Linked DNA regions of Homo sapiens: regions 1 and 2 are each linked to region 3. The links are contacts of gene promoters, found by promoter capture Hi-C in human tissues and cell types (Jung and others, 2019). All regions are on one chromosome and are shown on one strand. Each heading gives the region's core, a stretch centred on a gene start or on the middle of the fragment in contact. The rest is flanking DNA. Distances are from core to core; before and after follow the strand shown.

The links. Contacts are between HindIII fragments. The study calls those that stand out against the background at their distance.
Region 1: a contact is called between a fragment that was not itself captured here and the fragment with the promoter of AKR1A1 in region 3, in 1 of the 25 tissues and cell types used here (aorta).
Region 2: a contact is called between a fragment that was not itself captured here and the fragment with the promoter of AKR1A1 in region 3, in 2 of the 25 tissues and cell types used here (H1 embryonic stem cells and heart left ventricle).

What each region holds. Positions count from the first base shown.
Region 1 is chr1:46,257,484-46,261,728 of GRCh38, reverse strand. It overlaps RAD54L (RAD54 like), which reads right to left. Exons shown (of 18, transcript NM_003579.4): 4 at 2,983-3,043; 5 at 1,630-1,765; 6 at 1,118-1,187; 7 at 714-1,002; 8 at 344-468. Among named protein-coding and RNA genes, the nearest start is that of RAD54L, 12 kb to the right of the region's middle. The HindIII fragment of the contact is 4,363 bases long and covers 290-4,245 here.
Region 2 is chr1:46,183,473-46,187,641 of GRCh38, reverse strand. It overlaps TSPAN1 (tetraspanin 1), which reads right to left. Exons shown (of 9, transcript NM_005727.4): 4 at 3,245-3,451; 5 at 2,974-3,048; 6 at 2,759-2,857; 7 at 2,527-2,682; 8 at 2,334-2,417; 9 at 1,680-2,156. The coding sequence ends at 2,109. Among named protein-coding and RNA genes, the nearest start is that of P3R3URF-PIK3R3, 9.1 kb to the right of the region's middle. RefSeq lists an enhancer at 2,996-3,045. The HindIII fragment of the contact is 7,189 bases long and covers 1-4,169 here.
Region 3 is chr1:45,548,876-45,553,074 of GRCh38, reverse strand. AKR1A1 (aldo-keto reductase family 1 member A1) reads right to left here and starts at 2,249. Exons shown (of 9, transcript NM_153326.3): 1 at 1,920-2,249. RefSeq lists enhancers at 1,777-1,996, 2,227-2,456, 2,507-2,566. The HindIII fragment of the contact is 19,939 bases long and covers 1-4,199 here.

The sequences.
Region 1 (4,245 bases), core at 1,222-3,721, 710 kb before region 3:
CTAAATTGAGACTTGTCTCAGACACTTTCTGATTTATATCCTCTAAACATTGCCACCCACCCTTCAAGGTCCTTCTTTAGTCTAGGAATACTATCCGGAGGCAACAAAGCCAATCAGCCCCCAGTATCTCACTCTCCTCAGGGTTCTAAGCATTGTTTCAGCCCTCTTTTGGCAGACAGTATCTTGTATTTTGGTATCACAGGCTCTCCCTGTCACTTGTCTCCAAGGCAGCATCCTGTCTTCAGCATTCCCCAGTGACTAGCACAGCCCTTGGAAGGCAATACTCAGTGAAGAGATTTTGACAGATTTTCTCCTACCACCCAGACTGCTGAGAGTCAAGTACCTCGTCACATATGACCAGACCAACACTTCCTTTCTGGAGGACTCCAACATGAAGGCGGAAGGTCTCATAGGAAATGATGAGGATGGGAGAAGACACCCTGGCTCCACGCTGGTTCATGAATCCTTCTACAACAGAAAAGGTGTAAAGGGAACAATTCAGAATCTTTTGAAAAAAAAAAAAACAAAAAAAACAATTAGACAGTTCTTTAATTTAGCCTGGAAACAACTGACTCCACTTCAACTATTTTCAATGGAAATTCTCTTTTCTTCTACCCCTGCATTGCCCTCCACCCTGGCCATAAATGAGCATACACGTAAGAAAGCAGCAGGCTGTGCAGGAGAGTGCAGCCATCTTTGTTAGGGCTCCGTACCCAGCTTTTGGTCTATTTCATCCTTAGATCCTCCATCGATGGCCAGAGGTTGGATCCTCCCTCCGAGCCATTTCCCAACCTCATTGTACCAGTTCTTCACCAGGCTGGAAGGCGACACCACCACTGCCTTGTCAATTTCTGGCTTGCACTCTGGACTCTGGCGTAAAAGTGTCCACATCAATGTGATGCACTGCAGCGTCTTTCCTAGGCCCATCTCATCAGCCATGATGCAGCCATGGCTGCCAGGGATGCGCCGACTGGTGACACACTCCCACAGGAATTTCACTCCCTAGAGAATAACAGCCTTCAGTCCACTTTGGCACCTACGCTGCTGCTGTCCCAGGGATGGTAGTCTCCCAGGCTCAGCCCATAGCCCATACCTCGTTCCCCTCACCCTCATTTACCTCTCTCTGATGAGGCCGCAAAACCTTACTGAGAATAGGGTCAACAACCACATGGACAGGGAGTTTCTCCCTGAGAAAACACAGCAAAGAAAACAGCGTGCTCAGACATGGGCAAGGGAGCACCCTCAGGAAGCTGTGTCCTGCTGATCCGGAGGCAACAGAGGCAGCTGCCTAAAAGAAGACCTTCTTGGCTGATAAATCGTAAAACCATAGCAAGTTCCTACTTTAGGAGTTAGAAAGTTAGCTCAGAGAGGGATGGGTTCCCTGTGTCATCACCTCAATCACTCCTCCTCCTGAGTGAGCATCCTGGGAAGGCAGGAGGGGATGAGGAATGCCCACTCACTGGACATGACCACAGGCTCTTCCCCAGGCAGTCTCCTTCCCCAATCATCTACTCTCTGAAAACATATGTCAATCCTAAAAAGAAATCACACCAAAATACCCTCTGCCCTCCCAAGTATGCGTGCATATACAGAGAACCAAAACTGCTTATGAAATACCAGTGCACATACTTGTCAAGCTTCAGCTGGTCATGAGCGCTCAGCGGGGGAGGCTCATACAGAACCAAGGCATCTTTTTCCAGGGGGTCATGGAGGGCCCGGCGGACCCCAGCCCTTTTCAGGCCCAATGCTCGAGAGCCCAGAGGACCTACAAACCAATAATCATTCCGTCACCTGAATCTATGTTTAGGAGCTCCAGCAAGCCCAGCTCAAATACTTGTCCTTCACATAACCTTTCCCGAGCTCCCATATGACCCTCTCTCTCTGAGAATGCCTCCAAACTCAGTTTGGGCATCTCTATATGACCATTATCCCATTCAGCTTTTTTTTTTTTTTGAGATGGAGTCTCACTTTGTTGCCCAGGCTGGAGTGCAGTGGCACAATCTCGGCTCACTGCAACCTCTGCCTCCCAGGTTCAAGCAATTCTCCTGCCTCAGCCTCCCAAGAAGCTGGGATTATAGGCTCCCACCACCACACCCAGCTAATTTTTGTATTTTTTTTAGTAGAGACAGGGTTTCACCATGTTGTCCAGGCTGGTCTTGAACTCCTGACCTCTGGTGATCTGCCCGCCTTGGCCTCCCAAAGTGCTGGTATTACAGGCGTGAGCCACGATGCCCAGCCCCCAGAATTTTTCTGCTTTGAATCAGAGCTTTTCCCGTTTTATTTCTCCCATTCAATTACAAACTTCTGAGGTGCCAGATCTGGTTCATTTCAACTCAAGACAATCCTGGGAAGGCCTGAAATTCTAAAGGGCACTTTCATGGAGCTTTCTGAGAGCTCCTGAGAGCTGGCCACAGCCAAGCGTAGTATCTCAAGCCTGTAGTCCCAACACTTTTTGAGAGGTCGAGGTGGGAGGATCGCTTGAGCCCAGGAGTTCGAGATCAGCCTGGCCAACATAGTGAAATCCTATCTCTATTAAATTAAAAAAAAAAAAAGAGAGAGAGAGAAAGCTGGCCTCCCTATTCCTCCAAGCCCCAGTTTTAGCATAATGCTGTACCCTACATAAGACAGGGAAAAACCTTATAGAATCCAGGCCTCCCACACAGTCAGCCTCATAAAAGGGATGCTACTGAATGCACTTGGATTGAATGAAGCCCAGGTCCATCAGCCATCTTGGCCCACCAGGAGCTTTCTGAGCACCGGGACACCTCTACCAAGAAGATGAGGGGCAGTTAGTCTTGGCAGCCCTTACTGAGGCTAACACAGTTTTCATGCAGGCCTCAGGAGGGTCACCCCAAACACAGCCACCGCTGGACTGGCACCTTCAATTCCCAGCTAAGCTTGTATTTACAAAAGCAGGTTTTTAATTTATTCAGGCACACGTACATATGACTGATTTCAAAAACAGAAAAACCTCCATTTTACCTTGATAATTTGGAATGGGGACTTTGAAAGGCTTTGACAAAATGCTTCGAATAAATGCTTCCTAAAAAGAAAGGAGAAACAAGGATTCAGGACTGACTGGAGATGTTATGGGACAATATCATGATATGCTTCACATTAGGTTTTGTACAACAGCATCCATCTTCGAGGCTTTATGTAAGGTTCTACAAATATCCAGGGATAGCAGAAGGGCCCAGCCTCAGTCAACCACGAGGCTTAGAACCCAGGAAACCATTCACTCATTAAAAACCATGCCAGTGAGCATACCTAGCTCTTCCCTAGGGTATAGCACCTTGGAAAGCAAATACCACAGACTTAGCCAACCTGAGTAATAATGGATAATTCTAATGTCTGGGTTTAACCACTGTCATATAGGGTTACACCTTCCCAAGCACACCTCACAATTCTTTTTTTTTTTTTTTTGGCTACATCAGTTATGTCTAATATATCTAATACTCACATCAGCCTCCTTGGGAACTAAACAGCTCATCAAAGAGTAGTGATGGAGAAATGGGAGCCATCGTATTAATAAAATAATATTAACAACACCAGGCCGGGCATGGTGGCTCACACCTGTAATCCTAACACTTTGGGAGGCCAAGGCAGGAGGATCACTTAGGTCTGGGAGTTCGAGACCAGCCTGGGCAATATAGCAAGACCCCATCTCTATTTTAAAAATATATATTTAAAAATATAAATAAAAATAATGATGGCTACCAATGTATGCTAGACACAGAGCTAAGCCTCTTGCATTCATGTTACCATTTAATCCTAACAGCTGTATGAGGTCCATATATTACTGGTGTTTCCATTTTACAAATGAGCAAACTGAGGCTCAGAGTGATTAAGTCACTTTCTCAAGTCACAAAGCCATTACAAATGCAGGACTTTCCTGGTTCTAGGGTCCTTACTTGTACTCAGTAGGCAACGTGGCCTCTCACCCACTCTGAGTACAGCCATGCAGATCAGCCCAGACCCAGCAGCTTCCTGCCATGTAAAGCACAAGAGAAGGAACATGAGAAAGGGACATGAGAGAGAAGCTAAGCCCAACACTAAGAAAAAGCAAGTGGGACAAGGGTGACAGCAGGTAGACATATGTGGGTCCTAGAGAGGTAGCACTGGTGACTCCTCCACCTAAAGGCAAGAAGCCTCTGTACAAGCACTTCTGCCTTGAACCAGCATTATTCCATGGGCTATGGGGCTGGGGCAGGGGCAGAGAAGGCAGAAAAATTAACACTGAGCTAA
Region 2 (4,169 bases), core at 1,603-4,102, 630 kb before region 3:
GAGGCACAGTATGGTGGTGAAGGGGTGAGGCAGGCTAGCTCCTCCCCCTGTCCCGCACCCTAGCAGGCTCCTGGTCTGGCCCTCACAGACCAGCTCTAAGGCACTGTTTGGTTCTGGCCAGGTCCCTCTTCCTTTCTGGGCTCAGCAAGGGGGTGGTGGTTCTGGGCTGCCCTGGAAAAGCTCAGGAAGAGAGTTACAGGGGTCAAAGGGAAGTAAGGAGGGGGACTGGTTTGTTAGGCTGGGCTTTGCTTGGTAGCAGACACTGTACCCTCTTGCCATAGCCTCCCTCAGGCCTCTCACTCCTGGCTCAACAGTGATCAGGTCTATATCAGACATTCTGGCCAGCTGCCCCTTCAAGTGGAACTAGTACCATGTCAGCCAGGACTACACCAGGTGCTGGAGTTCTGGGCCCAAATCTAGGCTGAGCTCTTCACAGAAGCCTGTGGGACTGGGGCAAGTATCTTGGCCTTTCCGATCCCTAGTTTCCTACCTGGAGCATAGGGATAGTTAGGGCTAAAGAAGAGATGAGGTCTAGGTCAGGTGAGGTGGCTCACGCCTGTAATCCCAGCTCTTTGGGAGGCTGAGGCATGTGGATCACCTGAGGTCAGGAGTTCGAGACCAGCCTGGCCAACATGGTGAAACCCTGTCTCTACTAAAAATATAAAAAGTTAGCCGGGCGTGGCCGGGCACGGTGGCTCATGCCTGTAATCCCAGCACTTTGGGAGGCCGAGGTGAGTGGATCACGAGGTCAGGAGATCAAGACCATCCTGGCTAACACAGTGAAACCCCGTCTCTACTAAAAATTCAAAAAATTACCCGGGCGAGGTGGCGGGCGCCTGTAGTGCCAGCTACTCGGGAGGCTGAGGCAGGAGAATGGCGTGAACCCCAGGGGGCGGAGCCTGCAGTGAGCCGAGATCGCGCCACTGCACTCCAGCCTGGGCGACAGCGAGACTCTCTCAAAAAAAAAAAAAAAAAAACACAAAAATTAGCCGGGCATGGTGGCAGGTGCCTGTAATCCCAGCTACTCAGGAGGCTGAGGCAGGAGAACTGCTTGAACCCGGAGGCAGAGTCCGCAGTGAGCCGAGATCACACCATTGCACTCCAGCCTGGGCAACAAGAGCGAAACTCTGTCCCAAAAAAAAAAAAAAAAAAAGAAAAGAAAAGAAAAAGAGGTGAGGTCTGAAGAACACCAGGTAGGCCAGCAGCAACGAAAAAATGAAGTGCTTGCTGAGATCCCAGAAGCAGGGACAGATCTGGGGTTTTGCCTGAGTGGGAAAGGCAGGCAGCCTGGACCCTAGGAAGGGGGCTCCTGAAGGGCTTCCCAGAACCTAAGGAGTGACCCTTTCCCATTGCCCTGGTAAGAATTCGTCACAAGCTTGTTATTTTCATAGCTTTCCAGTCCAGTGCCCCTACCCAGGAGGGGGTAGTTTCAGTCCAAAGTTCTCCCCTTTATAAGGAGGCAGACTGGCCTAACCCAACTGTACTTCTTCATGCCCTCTCAGCCATCCCTCTTAGTTTCCCTCCAAGGCCTGGAACCCAAATGAAGGGGAGAAATAACCACTTCTGACCCCCAACCCCACCCTACTTCCCTCCTTTCCAGGGCCTTCTGAGTTGGCAGCCCCACAGGAATCCGTGGCCAGTTTAGGCCCCTCTCCCCAAGGATACATGAAGAGTCCAACTGGCAACATTGTAACAGGTTTATGCATTTTGAAGTGCCTTCTACACATCCACCCAGAGGCTCTGCTGATTTCACTTATGCCCAGGCTATAAAATGCCTTTCTCTCATCCCCCAGTAGAGCACTGGGATCACCACTAGGCCTAGGGGGCATATCAAGGGTTTAATAGACTGGGGGAATGGGCAACAGAACTGGCTACCTTAGAGGCTCTGGAATGCCCCCCACCCATCCACCCACCAATGGAAGGAAAGTCAGGCATCGCCTAAAAGGAGTGGTCCCTATCTAGCCCCAAGTCTGGAGCAGAAAGGGCAGGTCCATTCTGGCCCAAGTGACATTGTTAGATCCTGTCCCCTCCCCCAATCACTGCTGCTTGCCAGGGTGCCTCTTCACAGTTCCCATGTGGCAGCAGTAGTGGCAGAGGCAGAAGTGGACTTATTGTAGATTGCAGTACAGATACATGGACACAATCATGGCAGCCAGCTGGAGAGGGAGGAACAGGGAGAGATGAGGGAACATGATAGGGATCCTGAAGCCTGTCCCACAGACACCCTACCTGAGGCCCAGTTAGAAGTCTGTTTCCTCCAGAGAGGCCTCAGATGGGTTGAGCAGCCCTGGTCTCATGCCCATGTCCCAGTCCCAGCCTCCTCATCTGCTTACCTCGAGGCCCCCAATTCCAGCTGCCACACCACCCACGGTGACTGCATTAGTTCGGATGTCATACAAAAGCTGATTGAAGCAACCCTTCAGGAAGAGAAAAGAGCATTTATAGTTGGCAGCTGCCCTACTCCCATCCCCGTTTGCCACTCTGAGGCCATGAAAACAGTCCCCACCCACTCATGCCAGCCCACACCTCTACTTTTTGGTCGTGAGCCTTTTGCTTGGTGCAGGTTTCATTGGCTGTGTTGGTGACGTTGTCATTGCAACAGAATGGGGGAAAGGCACTGTTCTCTTTGAAGTAGGGTGAGTCCTCAAAATCCGTATAGTTGGTGAAGCCACAGCACTTGAGCTGGAGACAAGATGAGGGTGGAGGTGGGGCCTTGCTTCTTTCTCTCCACCCTAAAACCTCCCCCAGCCAACCTTACCCCTTTCATGGTGGTGTTCCACACTTGAGTGAAGTCTTCCTGGGAACCATAATCTTTCTTGATGGCAGGCACTACCAGCAACGTCAGGAAGTGCTCAGCCTGGGTGAGGCAGGCCAGTGTTTAGGGGCTGGTACAGAAGGTGGCCATTCACAGGCCACAGCCCACTCCCAGGGTTTTGCCCAATCTTCTTCCCTTCCTCCATCCCAGTGTCTCACCATTGTGGTGTACACCAAGGCGACCACAGCAGCTGCAACCTCAGCAATGAAGATGAGGAGGAGGATGAAGAAGAACTGAGTGGGGAACAGGGGTCTGGGTTTTAGGGAGAGACAGTCCCTCATGCCCTCCTTGCCCTAATCCCCCCCCCGGAAAAGTGAGACAGAAGCCTGAGCCTAGGGGGGTCCAAAGCAGGGTTTGGGAATCCCAGGGCCTGGTGTCAAGGGCGAGGGGACTCTTGGTCATCAGCCTGTGGAGCTGGGTTTCACACACCGTCACGAGGGCACACTTGCTCTCAGTCTTAGCACCATAGCAGCCCAGGAAACCAAGAGCAAAGACCACAACGCCGGCTGCGATGAGGAAGTAGCCCACGTTGACAAACTGCATGGCACTGGACGACAGTGGCCCGAAGATCTTCAGAAAGGATGCCCCATCGATTGACACCCAGATGCCCACTGCCAACAGGGCTGCACCACACAGCTGGGGAGAGAGAGGTCAGGCAGGCCTTAAACAGTGCTGGCAAGTAGCTTACTACCACACAGCTGAGTAAGAAGGATGGGAGCCGAGAAACTTCCCTCTTTATTGGCTAGGGAGTCTAAAACCTCATCCTGTAAGGAGGGAAACATCCTCTAGAGCCAGAAAAATGGGAGCTGGGATATGCATAGCTAGGACCAGGCTGCACACCTGGGCAGATATAAAGGAGATCAGGGGTTCTAGAAATATCCTCAGGGTGGGCAGAGGGGCAAGACTTTCCCTCACTGCTGCCAGGGTCCTGCCACATAGCTAGGATTGAAAACAGGCAGGTGAGGGCCCAGCCTCCTATTTCCTTTCTGGGCTATGGGTGCCTAGAACACCTCTGTCCTCTGATAGGTGGAGACGGGGGTGGTAGCAGAACAGGCTCAATAGTCACCATAGTAATGGAGGCGAGGCTGAGGTTCCACCTGCTGGCAACCTTGGAGAGGGAGGAGGTTGAGAAGGTTCACCCACCTGAGGCCCCATTTGGCTCCCCTCCAGAATCCAACTTCAGGCCCGCCCCTCATGTAGACAAGACCTCCTTGCCTCACAAGAGGAAAGTGAGGTACCAGTGGGAATACAGCCAGAGCTTCTCTTAAAGGCTGTCTAGCTCAACTCCAAACCTCAGGGGGAATTCTGAGGCCTAGATTGAGGAGGGCCCTGCGCAGTTCCCACAGATCTTAGA
Region 3 (4,199 bases), core at 1,000-3,499:
CGGCTCACTGCAATCTCTGCTTCCCGGGTTCAAGTGATTCTCCTGCCTCAGCCTCCCCAGTAGCTGGGATTATAGGTGTGTGCCACCACACCCAGCTACTTTTTGTATTTTTAGTACGGAGAGGGTTTCACCATGTTGGCCAGGCTGGTCTCGAACTCCTGACCTCAGGTGATCCACCCACCTTGGCCTCCCAAAGTGCTGGGATTACAGGCATGAGCCACTGTGCCCAGCTGACCATCACTCTTTACTTAAACCACAGATCTTGGCTTCCAGAGTGGTCCCTCTTCCCGCAGTCCATCACCAGATCCAACCATGTGACTCCCAGTCTCAAACCCTTCCAGCAATTCTCCCCTATATTCAGGATAAAGTCCAGGCTTCTCAAAACCTGGCTTCTATCTTTCTCATTTCACCACCTCCTCATGTCAGACTGTATTCCAGACTTTGAACACTCAACAGGGTCACATCACTTACCTGACTCTAGGTGTGTGCACTTTCCTTCCCCAAACCCTACCTTTGCCTGGCTAGCTGCTGCTCATCCTTCAGCTAGCACTTCACATTTCTGGCTCCTTTCCAGGTGCAGTGGCTCATACATGTAATCTCAGCACCTGGGCAGGCTGAGGCGGGAGGATCACTTGAAACCTGGGCAACAAAAGGAAACACTGTCTCTACAAAAATTTGTTTTTTTCTTTCTGAGTCTGCTTGCTAGGGGGAATTTTTTTTTTTTTATTTTAAAGATTAACTGGGCACAGTGGCATGTAGTTTATAGTCCAAAGGCTGAGGTGGCAGGATTATTTGAGCCCAGAAGTTTGAGGCTGCACTGAGCAAGGATTCCACCACTACACTCCAGCATGGGCAAAAGACCGAGAGACCCCCATCCATCTCTAAAAAGAAAATAAATAAATAAATAAATGGATGGCTACTTCCATGTACTGATAGCATGTGCACATCACTACATTTTTCTGTTTATATATAAATTTCCCCCACAAACCTGGCTACTCCTTGAGGTCTGAGCCTGTCATCTGCCTGAACCCCTCACTCCTAGAGTACCTGTCCCATACATACATACATACATACATACATACATACATACATACAATGTACACAATACACACACCACACACACACAGCTTATGGGGGAGAGATCTTGACAGGTTGAGTTTGGCCAGCTGGAAGGACATTTGAGGAAGTCGCTGCCTCTGTCACCTTCTTCCTTTACCTGTTGGAAAACCTGAAAAGAATCCTCTTGGAGAATATCAAAGCACTTTACTATACTCGGCAAAAAATCCCAGTGGACCAGATAGAATCATACTGAGATTGCTCCTGTATTAAAGATAAGGAAACAGATCTTGGAAAAGTAACAGGCCTGCAGCCCTGAGTATGAACGATCTGAAGGGGAAGAGTTAATTAACAGTAGCCTCATCCAGTGAAGGTTCAGATCTGTGTCTTACTTTAACAGAGTTCTGGGGCAACAGAATAACATGTCAGACTTTCTCAGACCCAAAGCAGGTGTCTAAGTAAGAGAATTATCCCCACTTCTCCCCACTTCTGAGAACTATCCCTGCACCTGCATAAGAAAGCCGGAGCAGCTGGAAAAAGCACATAGGTGAGCAAACAAAAAGATGGCAATTAAAACTTGCAGATCACCTAGTATGCGCTGTGCGCCTTCAAAGCTTTATCTCAATTCTTGCTACAGTTCTAATGTAGGACCTCATTTTATTGCTGAGGAAACAGGTTCAGAGAAACTGGGAAGTTAGCAAGAGATCATACAGAGAAAAAGAAGAGCTCAAATCCGAAACCAAGTCTCGTCCCCTCCAGTGCTCTGCGCTCTCCACTCAACCCCAGGGGCTTACATTTCAGTAGTAAAGAATCGAGGCCATCTCCTCCGGGAGAAAGATAGGCCAGCAGCAAGAGAAACTCACCTTGGCACAAGCACAGAGCGTGAATAGGGTACTGTGGCCTGGGCTCAGTTCTGCACCCCGCCAGAGATCCAACGATCCTCAGCTTAAGTCTGGCGGTGAGGGGGAAGTTCCACCCGGAGGGAGGGGCAGGGGCCGGGCATAAAGGATCACGCGCAGGGTGGACCGCCTTCGCCGCCTCCCGAGGAAGGACCTGAAGGGGATGGAAAACAGAGCTGGGAGGTAGTACCGTCTCCACCTCTGGATCCTCGAGGTCGAACTGGCCGGAACTTGGTCACTCACTCCGCAGCGCGGGTTTGGAGAACTCCTGGGCACAATGAGGCAGGTGGCGCTGGCCACGTGGGCGGTGCAAGGGGCGGGGCCAGCCTCGCCTTTTGCTGGCCCACATTGCACCGCGCGCCTAGGCGCCGCCGCAGGCGCTTTTCCGGGGGAAGTAAGGTAGCAGATGCCACGTTGCAGGTTCTTCTGGTGTCGGCCCTCCGGATTCACAATGCCATCCGTGGCTCCATACTCTCCCTAAAGTCAGGTTGGCTGGATTCCCAAAGTTCACCTAAGTTGGCCCCGTTACATTTAGTTCAAGCAAACTGAGGCCCAGAGAGCAGCTGCAACACCAAGATTGGCCAGAATACAGAAGACCTCGCGTCTGCAGATCCAGGCGCTGGAAAGTGCCTGGTCCCCCTGTCTGGACCATAGACCCCGCCCAGCACGTTATGTGCCAGGCACTGTGCTTAACACTTAATAAACATGGTTTTATTGAATCTTCATAATAATCCTGGAAAAGGAATATTCCTTTTTTTTTTTTTTTTTTGAGACGGAATCTCGCTCTCGCCCAGGCTGGAGTGCAGTGGCGCGATCTTGGCTCACTGCAACCTCCGCCTCCCTGGTTCAAGCAATTCTCTGCCTCAGCCTCCCGAGTAGCTGGGATTACAGGCGCCCGATACCACGCCTGGCTAATTTTTTTGTATTTTTTAGTAGAGACGGGGTTTCGCCATCTTGGCCAGGCTGGTCTTGAACTCCTGACCTCGTGATCCACCCGCCCTGGACTCCCAAAGTGCTGGGATTACAGGAGTGAGCCACTGCGCCTGGCCGAAAAGGAATATTCTTTTATTTCGTACAAGCCTTTTTAAAAATCGTAGTATAGCATATATACAGAAAATACACCAGTCTTTTTTTTTTTCTTTTTCTTTTTTTCCTATTCTACATCCAGGAAGAAAGAAAATGTATAAATCTTAAATGTATACAGTTCTTTTTTTTAAATTATTTTTTGCAATGTAACTGCCATCCAGAGGAAGATATTACCAGCACACCATAAGCCTGTGAGGAAAGTATTCATAATCCATTTTACAGATTGGACAGACTCAGCAAGGTTAAGGCTATTTATAATTTTCCCAAAGTCACACAGGTATTAATTAAATGACACATCTGCGATTTGAAATAGTCTGTGCTGTTTGAGTGGAGAGGTGTCTTGCATGTATGTGTTTTCCTTGGCAGGGATGGGCAAGACACAGGGTTATCTCGGTTTGGCTCTGCTTTTCCCCACACCTTTACTCCCTGAGAGCAACTCTTCCCATTTCCCCACCCCCGTTATCCCCCACTGTCTCCCCAACATAAGTGATGTCCTGGTGGACCAAATGTCTAATGTATCAGGCCATCCTCATAAAAACAATCAGACTTGGCCGGGTGCGGTGGCTCACGCCTGTAATTCCAGCACTCTGGGAGGCCGAGGCAGGCGGATCACCTGAGGTCAGGAGTTAGAGACCAGCCTGACCAACATGGAGAATCCCCGTCTCTATTAAAAATACAAAATTAGCCGGGCGTGGTGGCACATGCCTGTAATCCCAGCTACTCGGGAGGCTGAGGCAGGAGAATTGCTTGAACCTGGGAGGCGGAGGTTGTGGTGAGCTGAGATTGCGCCATTGCGCTCCAGCCTGGGCAACAAGAGTGAAACTCCATCTCAAAAAAAAAAAAAAAAAAAATTCAGCTAGGCGTCGTGGCGCGCACCTGTAGTCCCAGATACTCAGGACGCTGAGGCAGGAGAATCGCTTGAACCCGGGAGGCGGAGGTTTCAGTGAGCCGAGATCGAGCCACTGCACTCTAGCCTCTTGACAAAGCGAGACTGCCCCTCAAAAAAAAAAAAAAAAAAAAAAAAAAAAAAAAATTAGCTGGATGTATTGATGCGAGCCTGTAATCCCAGCTACTTGGGAGCCTGAGGCAACAGAATCACTTGAACCAGGGAGGCGGAGGTTGCAGTGAGCTGAGATCGCGCCACTGCACTCCAGCCTG